2 separate regions of the Homo sapiens genome follow, and region 1 is linked to region 2. Evidence: promoter capture Hi-C in 16 types of primary human blood cells and fetal thymus (Javierre and others, 2016). All regions are on one chromosome and are shown on one strand. Each heading gives the region's core, a stretch centred on a gene start or on the middle of the fragment in contact. The rest is flanking DNA. Distances are from core to core; before and after follow the strand shown. Region 1 overlaps C2orf49 (chromosome 2 open reading frame 49). Region 2 holds the start of GCC2 (GRIP and coiled-coil domain containing 2).

Evidence for each region. Contacts are between HindIII fragments. The CHiCAGO score rates a contact against its expected background, and 5 or more counts as called.
Region 1: a fragment that was not itself captured here is called in contact with the fragment with the promoter of GCC2 in region 2 in 2 of 17 cell types (total B cells and neutrophils); the score reaches 7.5 in total B cells.

Annotation. Positions count from the first base shown.
Region 1 is chr2:105,339,322-105,344,149 of GRCh38, forward strand. It overlaps C2orf49 (chromosome 2 open reading frame 49), which reads left to right. Exons shown (of 4, transcript NM_024093.3): 2 at 262-428; 3 at 3,527-3,902. Among named protein-coding and RNA genes, the nearest start is that of C2orf49, 4.2 kb to the left of the region's middle. The HindIII fragment of the contact is 2,746 bases long and covers 911-3,656 here.
Region 2 is chr2:108,446,027-108,450,831 of GRCh38, forward strand. GCC2 (GRIP and coiled-coil domain containing 2) reads left to right here and starts at 3,180. Exons shown (of 23, transcript NM_181453.4): 1 at 3,180-3,254; 2 at 3,607-3,663. The coding sequence starts at 3,249. RefSeq lists enhancers at 2,120-3,102, 3,007-3,266, 3,103-4,084, 4,170-4,670, 4,671-4,805. The HindIII fragment of the contact is 5,578 bases long and covers 1-4,158 here.

The sequences.
Region 1 (4,828 bases), core at 1,034-3,533, 3.1 Mb before region 2:
TGCTTGGTGTGTTGGCTGAGCAGTTGTGGACAGCAATCCCTGTCACACTGAGAAAATATGACCATTGTTTTTAAGATGAGGCTGAACCTAGTATCTACAGAATTTAACCTTTAACACTGTCTCTAAGTGCGCGTGTTATTGTGAAAATGGCTTTTTATAATTTGTTATTTAAGCAGTAATGTTTTACCATGTTAGGTAAGGTGGTTACTTGTTAAAATTAAAAACATTGTTTTGAAATTACTTTTGTTTCCTTTCCCGCAGAAGAACATAGCTGTTGAAACTGATGTAAGAGTAAACAAAGACAGTCTTACTGACCTTTATGTCCAACATGCAATACCATTGCCTCAGAGGGATTTGCCGAAGAATAGATGGGGGAAAATGATGGAAAAGAAAAGAGAACAACATGAGATTAAAAATGAGACTAAAAGGTACTTTTTGGTGGTTCTAGCTTTCAATTTATCTTATATAACTAAAGTTATATATAAGTTATTGATTTTTCCTGAGATAAACTTAAGTAAAAAATTTATTTACTCAATGACTATCTATTGAGCACCAGGCACTGTGCGTATAGCAGTGAATAAAACTGACAAAATTCCCTGCTCATATTTTTGATGGGAGAAACATAACAACAGTTAAAATATGGTATTGTTATATAGTAATAAAGGCCAGGGAGAAAGATTACAATTTTTGGTAAATTATCCAGGAAGATCTTAGTGAAAAATGACATTTTAGTAGAGAGACCTGTAGGAAGAAGAAAACAAGCTAGGATTCCAGGCAGAATACAAGAGGCTGGATCTGGAATGTGCCCATCATATACCAGGAACAACAAAGCAGCTATCAGGGCTGGATGGAGAAGTAGGAAGAACGAGTTGTACTGGGGGCAAACGGGAGAGATTGTCAGATCATGTAAAGCTTTGTAAGTCATTGTAAGGACTTTGGCTGTACTCAGATGAGAAGCCACTAGAAGGTTTTAAGCAGAGTGGTGACATCATTAGATGTACATTTTGACAAGATGACTCTGGCTGCTGTCCTAAGAAGTGATTTAAGGTGTGTGGGGAGGGGAAGCGGTGTGTATAAGACTGGAAGCAGGGAAACAAATTAGAAGCCTGTACTGTAATCCAGGCAATAGATGGCAGCAGCTTTGACTACAATAGTAAATTTGGTGGGTTGGAGCATGCATGTATTTTGAAGATAGAGCCAATAGGATTTCCTGAATTTTGAGGAAAAAGTCAAGTCAGGTAAAACTCTAAGGTCTTTGAATAATACACAAATGAAGGGCCTGTTAACTAGCTTAAGTTATGCTATTTAAAATTATTTAATTTCAAAAACAGTTTTATAAAACCACAAGCAAGTGATTTTTTCTTTTTTAAAGAAAATTACATTTGATTAATCAGTGTTGTTGATTGGTTAATAAGTACAAAGTGTCCTAAGATCCTTAAGTGAACTCTTCTGTGTCTATTATATCTCAAGTGGATACTATTGATCAATTAATTTTTTTTTAGGGCCTTCTATTTGTAAGGCACCGTCATAGGCAATCCACTAGAAGCAGTGAGAGAAGACAGAGTAGGAGGGTAGGGGTAAAGGGGAGTATGTTCCTCTGAGTTTTAATCTCTGTTTTACAAAGAAAAATTTAATGATTGAGATTATTCTCCAATTATGAAGAATAGTCGAAGAATACATGTCTGCTCATTGTCTTTTGGAAAATACACACACAGTCTGACCTTTGATCAAGAATGCATTTTAGATTGACCATTTTAGCTTGATGGTTACTTTACTTACTAGTACAGACTATGTAGTGGTGTTAACTTTCATAAATATGGGTTACACTGCATATGGCTTTTAATTTACTTTTGCTGTTATTCAGCCAGTATTTTCCTCTTGATCAGCACATTCAGGCATATTGTTCTAGTAAGCAAAACTTTATGTGCCAGTCATACTTTCCTTTGAAGCAATCTTTGTACAACTGTCTTGATTAGTCCCCCAAAATCATTTTGGAAAGGATCTTTGACTCTATTTTTTAAATACACAATTGAATCAGAGCATTAAAACTGGAAGGATCCAAGAGATCATCTTGTATTGTTGAACTACTTATTATTTTATCTGTGGAGGAACTGAGATCCTGAGAAGTGCTGTAACATGCCCAAGGTCACACAGAGCTAGGACCAGGTCCATAGCAACATAGCCCTGTGCTTCTCAAACTTTAATGTGCTTCTTGAATCTTAGATTAAGCAAGCTGTCAAACCCTGCTCTCAGTCCCTGTTTCCCTTCTACAAAGGCAGTGGGTATACAGTGAGCTTACTTCTCATTTTCTACCAAATGATGTTCAGTGATGACCCAAGAATTGTTGAGTTTGGCCAACTGCTAGAAATCTGGTTAAAAGGTGAGTTCTGATGTATTCAGGTTGATGCCCCAGATTCTCCATTTCTTACAAGCTCCTAAGATACTGACTGACGTTGCTGTGCTGGTGCTGCTGGTCCCTGGATCACACTTTGAGTGGCAGGGCTAAAATGTTCTTCCTGATAACTGGCTATCTCAGATTCTTTTAACATGTTTAATTAAAAGGGTTTTTTTTTGGGCCAAGAGCAGTGGCTCACGCCTGTAATCCCAGCATGTTGGGAGGCGGGCGGATTACCCTGAGGTCAGGAGTTCAAGACCAGCCTGGCCAACATGGTGAAACCCCGTCTCTACTAAAAATACAAAAATTAGCTGGGCACTGTGGCATGCACCTGTATCCCAGCTATTCGGGAGGCTGAGGCAGGAGAGTCACTTGAACCTGGGAGGCAGAGGTTGCAGTGAGCCGAGATCGCGCCATCGCACGCCACCCTGGGCAACAAGAGCGCAACTCCGTCTCAAAAATAAATTTTTTTTCAATTCATCTGTGAGATAGGTGATATAGATATTATCTGAGGTATAATAAGTAATAAACAAATGAATGCTTTCCTTATTAACCTTTACTATTAAGAGTGGAAATTAGATTTCCAGAAGGTAAGTATGAGACACTTGCCAGATTTTACAATTGAACTTGTACAAATGTCCAGTTACGATTAGTTTAGAAAATGTCTTGGCTTTAGAGACCTTTGCTGAATGGAGTAGAATGCTGTGCCCCATTTGTAGATTGCTGCTGTGGTAGTCTTGGTATAGTTTTATAGTTTATCATCCTTTTAAAATAATAACTGATTACATGGTTAAGATAACCCTATCAATAAGCTGGTGTTTGTTTTTTAACTAGGAAATCTCATTTTAAGTTCCAGGGCTAGATGGTTAATTGATGTTTTAAAAATAGCTGCATGTTGTGTATACATGAAAGCTAACTTTGAATTTCTTGTACATAAATATTTTAAACTTTGAAATAAAACACTAGGAAATTCTTTCATTTAGAATGAACATAGAAAATTTCATTTTTAATAGTCTCAGATTAGTCTTATCAGAAAATCTTTTTGTTTACTGCTTATTTTAACTTGAATCCCAGTGAACTGGTTTGCCGTTCCAGATGGTATTTTTCAAGAGTGCATCTCTTTGATTTCAGGAGTAGCACTGTAGATGGGTTAAGGAAAAGACCCCTCATCGTATTTGATGGAAGTTCAACAAGTACAAGCATAAAAGTGAAAAAGACAGAGAATGGAGATAATGATCGACTGAAGCCTCCCCCGCAGGCAAGCTTTACCAGTAATGCCTTTAGAAAATTATCAAATTCCTCTTCGAGTGTTTCACCCCTAATTTTGTCTTCCAATTTGCCTGTGAACAATAAAACGGAACACAATAATAATGACGCTAAACAGAACCATGACTTAACGCATAGGAAAAGTCCTTCAGGCCCTGTGAAGTCGCCACCATTGTCCCCTGTTGGAACTACTCCAGTGAAGTTAAAGAGAGCTGCTCCTAAAGAAGAGGCAGAGGCCATGGTAAGTATGGGGGTGGTTTCCATGCTGGTAAGTGGTCTGAATGAAACTTGAGCAGTCTGCCTCATGACGGGAGGTGGGTCGACTGTGCTACATTCTGTTCTTGAACCCTTTTGATGGTCTGTCTGATTTGTATAATACAACTTATTACTCCAGTACTTGAATCCTGGAATTTAAAAATCCATGGTGATTAATGTTTTTAAAAGTTCACTCAAGTTATTTCTGCTTAAAATACGTAGAGAGAGGATCTGTTAGGCAGTTTTCCTAGATTTTTCTCATTTAGTTCCTTTAACTGTCTTGGAACTAAAACAGATAAATATTCCTTTATTAGCAAGGTTTAGAACATTAAGTAATTTGTCCAGGGTCACACATTTATTAAGTAGCATTTGGGGCCTGACCTTAAGTCTGTCTGTTTGTGCATACCTTAAAACCACACCAGACACCAGAATCTTTTTAAGATTTACCACTTGCCTCGCCTACTGCTCAATTTACCTAGCTTTGTGGGGATAGCAGAAGTTGGGGAAATCTATTATGTTGTGCTCCACTATGTTGAATCATTTGGATGCTTGTTGGCACATTTAGTGCAGTTAACACAATGTATTAGAGTTTAATTTGTGAGATGATTTATATATATATAATATAAAATATATATAGGCGCTTCAGAAAAGTGCTTTTACTTTTAAATACCTAGTAGTTTAATAGCCATTATTCTGTAGAATACTTTGCCTTTATTATTATTATCATCTAATCATGTATCAAAGGGATCAAAACTCAGAAAATTCAAACATTCTAAAATAGTAGACTGGAAAAAGAAAACCACCTGACTGGTCATGAGTTTTTTACTTTTATTAGTTCATTGAATCCTTTCAGTAACTATGAAGTAGGCATCTTCGTTATTCCTATTTCACAGATAAGGAAACAGAAACTTA
Region 2 (4,805 bases), core at 1,930-4,429:
CAAAAATTAGCTGGGCATGGTGATGCATGCCTGTAATCCCAGCTACTCAGGAGGGTGAGGCAGGAGAATCACTAGAACTTGGGAGGCGGAGGTTGTGGTGACCCGAGATTGTGCCATTGCACTCCAGCCTGGGCAACAAGAGCGAAACTCCGTCTCAAAAAAAAAAAAACAATCCTCAGTTCTGGTACTGGCTCTACCCCTAATCATACTATGAACCTTAGAAAGTAACTTACATTCTGGCTCACTATCTTATCCTGTATAATAAGAGGCAATAGGTTAGGTCAGAACTACATTCACTTGTAAGTATATTAAAAGTAAATTAAAACATATGACTTATCTTTTAGCTACATCAATACAATATAAATGGGCCGGGTGTGGTGGCTCATGCCTATAATCCTAGCACTTTGGGAGGCTGAGGCAGGTGGATCACTTGAGGTCAGGAGTTCAAGACCAGCCTGGCCAAGATGGTGAAACCTTGTCTCTACTAAAAATACAAAAATTATCCAGATGTGGTGGCACTTGCCTGTAGTCCCCGCTACTCGGGAGGCTGAGGCGGGAGAATCACTTGAACCCAAGAGGCAGAGGTTGCAGTGAGCCAAGATCATGCCACTGCACTCCAGCCTGGATGACAAAGCAAGACCTGTCTGAAAAAAAAAAAAAAAAAAAAAGGAGAAGAAAGAAAAAAAAATACAATGTAAATGTAGTTTTTCCATGCTTACCTTAAGAGTTATAATCAAAGCACTGAAGAGCCAAGGATTGATTTTTCTGAAATAAAACTTGCTAGCGAACTAACAAAAAAAGATCAGGTGTCTCTCCGGACCATCCCTAAGCAACAGGTGCCTTTTAATGTGGCTCTTCAGGAGATAATGGCATGTTGGCACCATTCCAAACTGGTAAAGAAGCTATTTTTACTTAGGCAAGACCCTGCAACTTGCTCAAATTATATTATGTTTCAGTAGTGCTGGTTAACATACAGCAGTCTCCATCTACTATACAATGTGACCAGCACAGCACATATTATTGACATTGTTATTAACATTGTTCCTATTTTCTATTTCCATAAATGATTCAAGGTGATTTTTATTTTCTTTTCGGAATTTTCCTATATTTTCCAGGTGTTCTACAATGAACCTGTGTTACTTTTACAATTGGAAAGAAACATATTCGTTAAACAGGTCATAGTTCTGCTCATTAAGGTAATATACATCTTTAAAATGTGAACTTATCTGCAGTCCAGAGAATGTGAAATATAAAGCAGATCTTTCCTATAGGTTTATGAATATCAGAAGATCTCAGAGTACTCACAATCAATTCATAAATATTCATTCTTTAAAGTATGAAAGATGATAAATATATTTAGAAGATTTCAGCACTTACTATAACTAGTGAAGGAAGAAATAAATGATTTCTTCCTTAAGAGGAACAACAACAGAAGGTATCCGATGGTCAAGAACATTATACCTGCCTCCATCATCTCAGAAAATAAAATTCCTGTCCAATGACAACCAGGAAGGCAGATGGGGGTGAGCTCGAGCTGTGTGAGGAGGCCGCTGATGACCTGGAGCTTAGGGGTGTGCTGACCCTCATCTCCCTGGGGATTCCCAGGAGACGCTGCCCTACCTGTAGCTGCAACTCATGGACCCTGTTACCCAGCCAAGTGCAATGGAGGGCTGGCGAGGGAAGAAAGATCAAAGGAAGAAAAGAAAGGTTCTTTTTTATTTCAAGTATGAGAAAAAGAGAGTTCTACTGTGAGAACATCAACTCTTCTGTAGCTATTGATGTAGCCAAACTCCTGGAATGTAACTATATCTAACAGTGTTTCTCTGAGAAACTTTTACAGGATTGGAATGTGTGTAGTATCTAGTTAACCTGCTATTTTATTGCAAGTGATTTTTTCAAGTTATTAATTGAAATAGGAGTCTACCGTAAGTTGCTCTTAACTTGGGGAACTACTTTGAATGGCATTAATCTGGACCATTAATAACAATGTATACTTGGGGATTGTGTGTGTGTGTGTGTATACATGTGTGTGCATATATGTGTGTACACACACGTGCACACACACGTGCGCGCACACGTGCACACACACACGTGCACACACACACGTGTACACACACACGTGTACACACACACGTGTGTTACTGTACGTGGAGACTGTACATCTTAGGTCACACACCACCCCTGAACCAATCCTACAAACACCATAGGTGATACACACTGTCAAAGACAAAGAGTAGATGTCCACAATAGCTGTTCTTTCTCGTTTATAACACTTCTTTTACCTAGTAATAATCAGCTACCATTTACTCGATACATACTGTGTGCTGCCTCTTCAACCTTTTGACCATTTAAACTACAGGAAACTAGGTTATCTTCAGGTTACCTTAGTTATGGGAGTGTATGGAAAACATTAATGGGAAGGTGAAAGCGCAGCAAACCACTTCAGCAGTTAACAGAAAGGCTCTCAGAGCACTGGACCGCCAATCAGGACACAGCAGCAGCTCTGGGATTCGACCACAGATTCTCTGGCGTGCCCTTCGGGAAAGGGTGGCCTCGGGCCCCCTACTCTACAGAGTCTCCTCCCACGGCTGCCCAGTTCCCTGGCCGACTATCTTGCCTCCACCACATCACCATCAGTACCGGGCGGCTGCAGGGCAGAGCTGTCCAGGGACCTCCTCACAGCCTCCAGAGTCAAGAAATGCCTCCTCAGGGAAGCCCTCTACCGCATCCCTGACCTGTGAGTCACGGAGCTCCCGGGCACCATGCTGGCCACAAATGCCTAAGGAGCCCCCCGGAACCAGCTGTGGGTCCCGCAGGCACTCGCAGGCTAGCGGACACCTTTGGAGGACTGAGAGACCTGTCCTGCAATCCAATGTTCCTCACTCTCACAAGATTTTACAGACGTGGAAACCGAGGCCCGAGGCCCCAAGGGGTAATCGGCCCGCCTTCCCATGCCAATAACCGGCAGTGGCGGGACCCACACCTACTCCGTGACCTGCAGGCCCAGGGGTCGAGCCCCAGGTAGAACGTCTAGACGGACTCCGCCCTTAGCGCCGTACGGGGAACCTTCTCCCGGACGCAGACACGGAAGCGGAAGTGCTGCCGAGCTGTAGCTATGGAGACGTGGGGGGCGGGCCGCCCGGAGAGCGCGACCTTTGACCTGCAGTAGAGCCTACGTCAGAGGCTGGCGCAAACAGAAGTGCAGCGGTGGCGGCGGCTGGTTGCGGGCCGGCGGCGGGCTGGCGGAGATGGAGGTAACTCAGGTCGGGCCCACTGCCTCCCATCAAGCCTTCCGCGCCGCGATTTGGGATGTGGGAGTGGGCCCGATGGGAGGGCGCGGTAGTCTCCCTCTTGGTGTCCCGAAGCCCGCGCTGCTGTCGCCTCCCCATCTTTCGTAAACTCTATCCCTGGGGGTTACCTGCCCCGTAGAGCCCGTTTGTGTACGAATTGCCACAGCGACCGCCTCCGTCCGCCCTCATTCTCTGTCTCACGAGGCTTTCCACCACTTGATTCCATAGAAGGTTTTTCCCTGTAAGGGTTCTACGCGTTCCGTGTGGAATTAGGAAAAGAGTTCTTCTGACACCTGGGTTTGATTTTGTTTTGCAGGATCTTGTTCAAGATGGGGTGGCTTCACCAGCTACCCCTGGGACCGGGAAATCTAAGGTGAAGAGAATACTTGAATAGCGGGCTTCCTGAAGAGTGGAAGGGTGATGAATTGGAAAACTTTGGCATGGGGAAGGGGGGGGCGCTGATTTTTTTTTTTTTAATAGCCTTGCTCCAAGGGATCTCAATTTTAGTGTGCGCAATCGCCCATTTCCTGTTTCTCCCCCGCCCACCCCGATATAGAAAGACTTTTTGTTTGCTTCCTGCTCCTGGTTAGCACTGCTGGGAGATCCTGCTATTTTTCGAACATAAAGCAGTCTAAGAAGGTTTATATAGTGGTGTAGTGGAAGGAGCAGTGACATAGGGTAGGAATCAAGGGATTCTGATCTGTGGGCTCCAGTTTCTACATTGCCAAAGAGTTTAATTAGTCCAGTTTTATGGCCCTGTACAATGTTTAACATTCAATCATTCTAAATGATAGTGGTTTATTGCTAAGGTTTATTGTGTGCATGCTAAATTTCTGGCGCTTGCCTAACCACTCAGTTCCTTCGTTTAAGCTTCATGATAACCATGAGATAGGTACTGTTGTTACCCTCCTTTTACAGATGAGAAACCTGAGACCACAGGCTTAAGCAATTTTCTCAAGTGGTAAAGCTCAATTTTTTAATTAAAGCCTGAATGTTACCCGGTTCATCTTGCTGCTGTAATTATGCGTAAATTTTCTTGTGACCAAAGACTTGCAGCCTTGAATAGAATGAAATAATTTTACAGCTCCAAGGAATTTTAAGTAGCATTAGCTCCAACCTACTGATTTTACAATTAAATCAAAAGCTAGCAATGTCAACCTGTAACATTAGCTATAAGAGGATATGGCCTGGTTTTTACGTTTCATAGTAGTTGCATAACTAATTTTTAGTAGTTGCATAGCAATTACAGAATTGACGTTGCATTTGCTGATTTTAAAAAATGTGGCCGGGCGCGGTGGGTCACGCCTGTAATCCCAACACTTTGGGAGGCCGAGGCGGGCAGATCACCTGCGGTCAGGAGTTTGAGACCAGCCTGGCCAACATGGTGAAACCCCGTCTCTACTAAAAATACAAAAATTAGCCGGACGTGGTAGCGGGCGCCTATGATCCCAGCTATTTGGGAGGCTGAGACAGGAGAATTGCTTGAACTTGGGAGGCAGAGGTTACAAGTGAGCC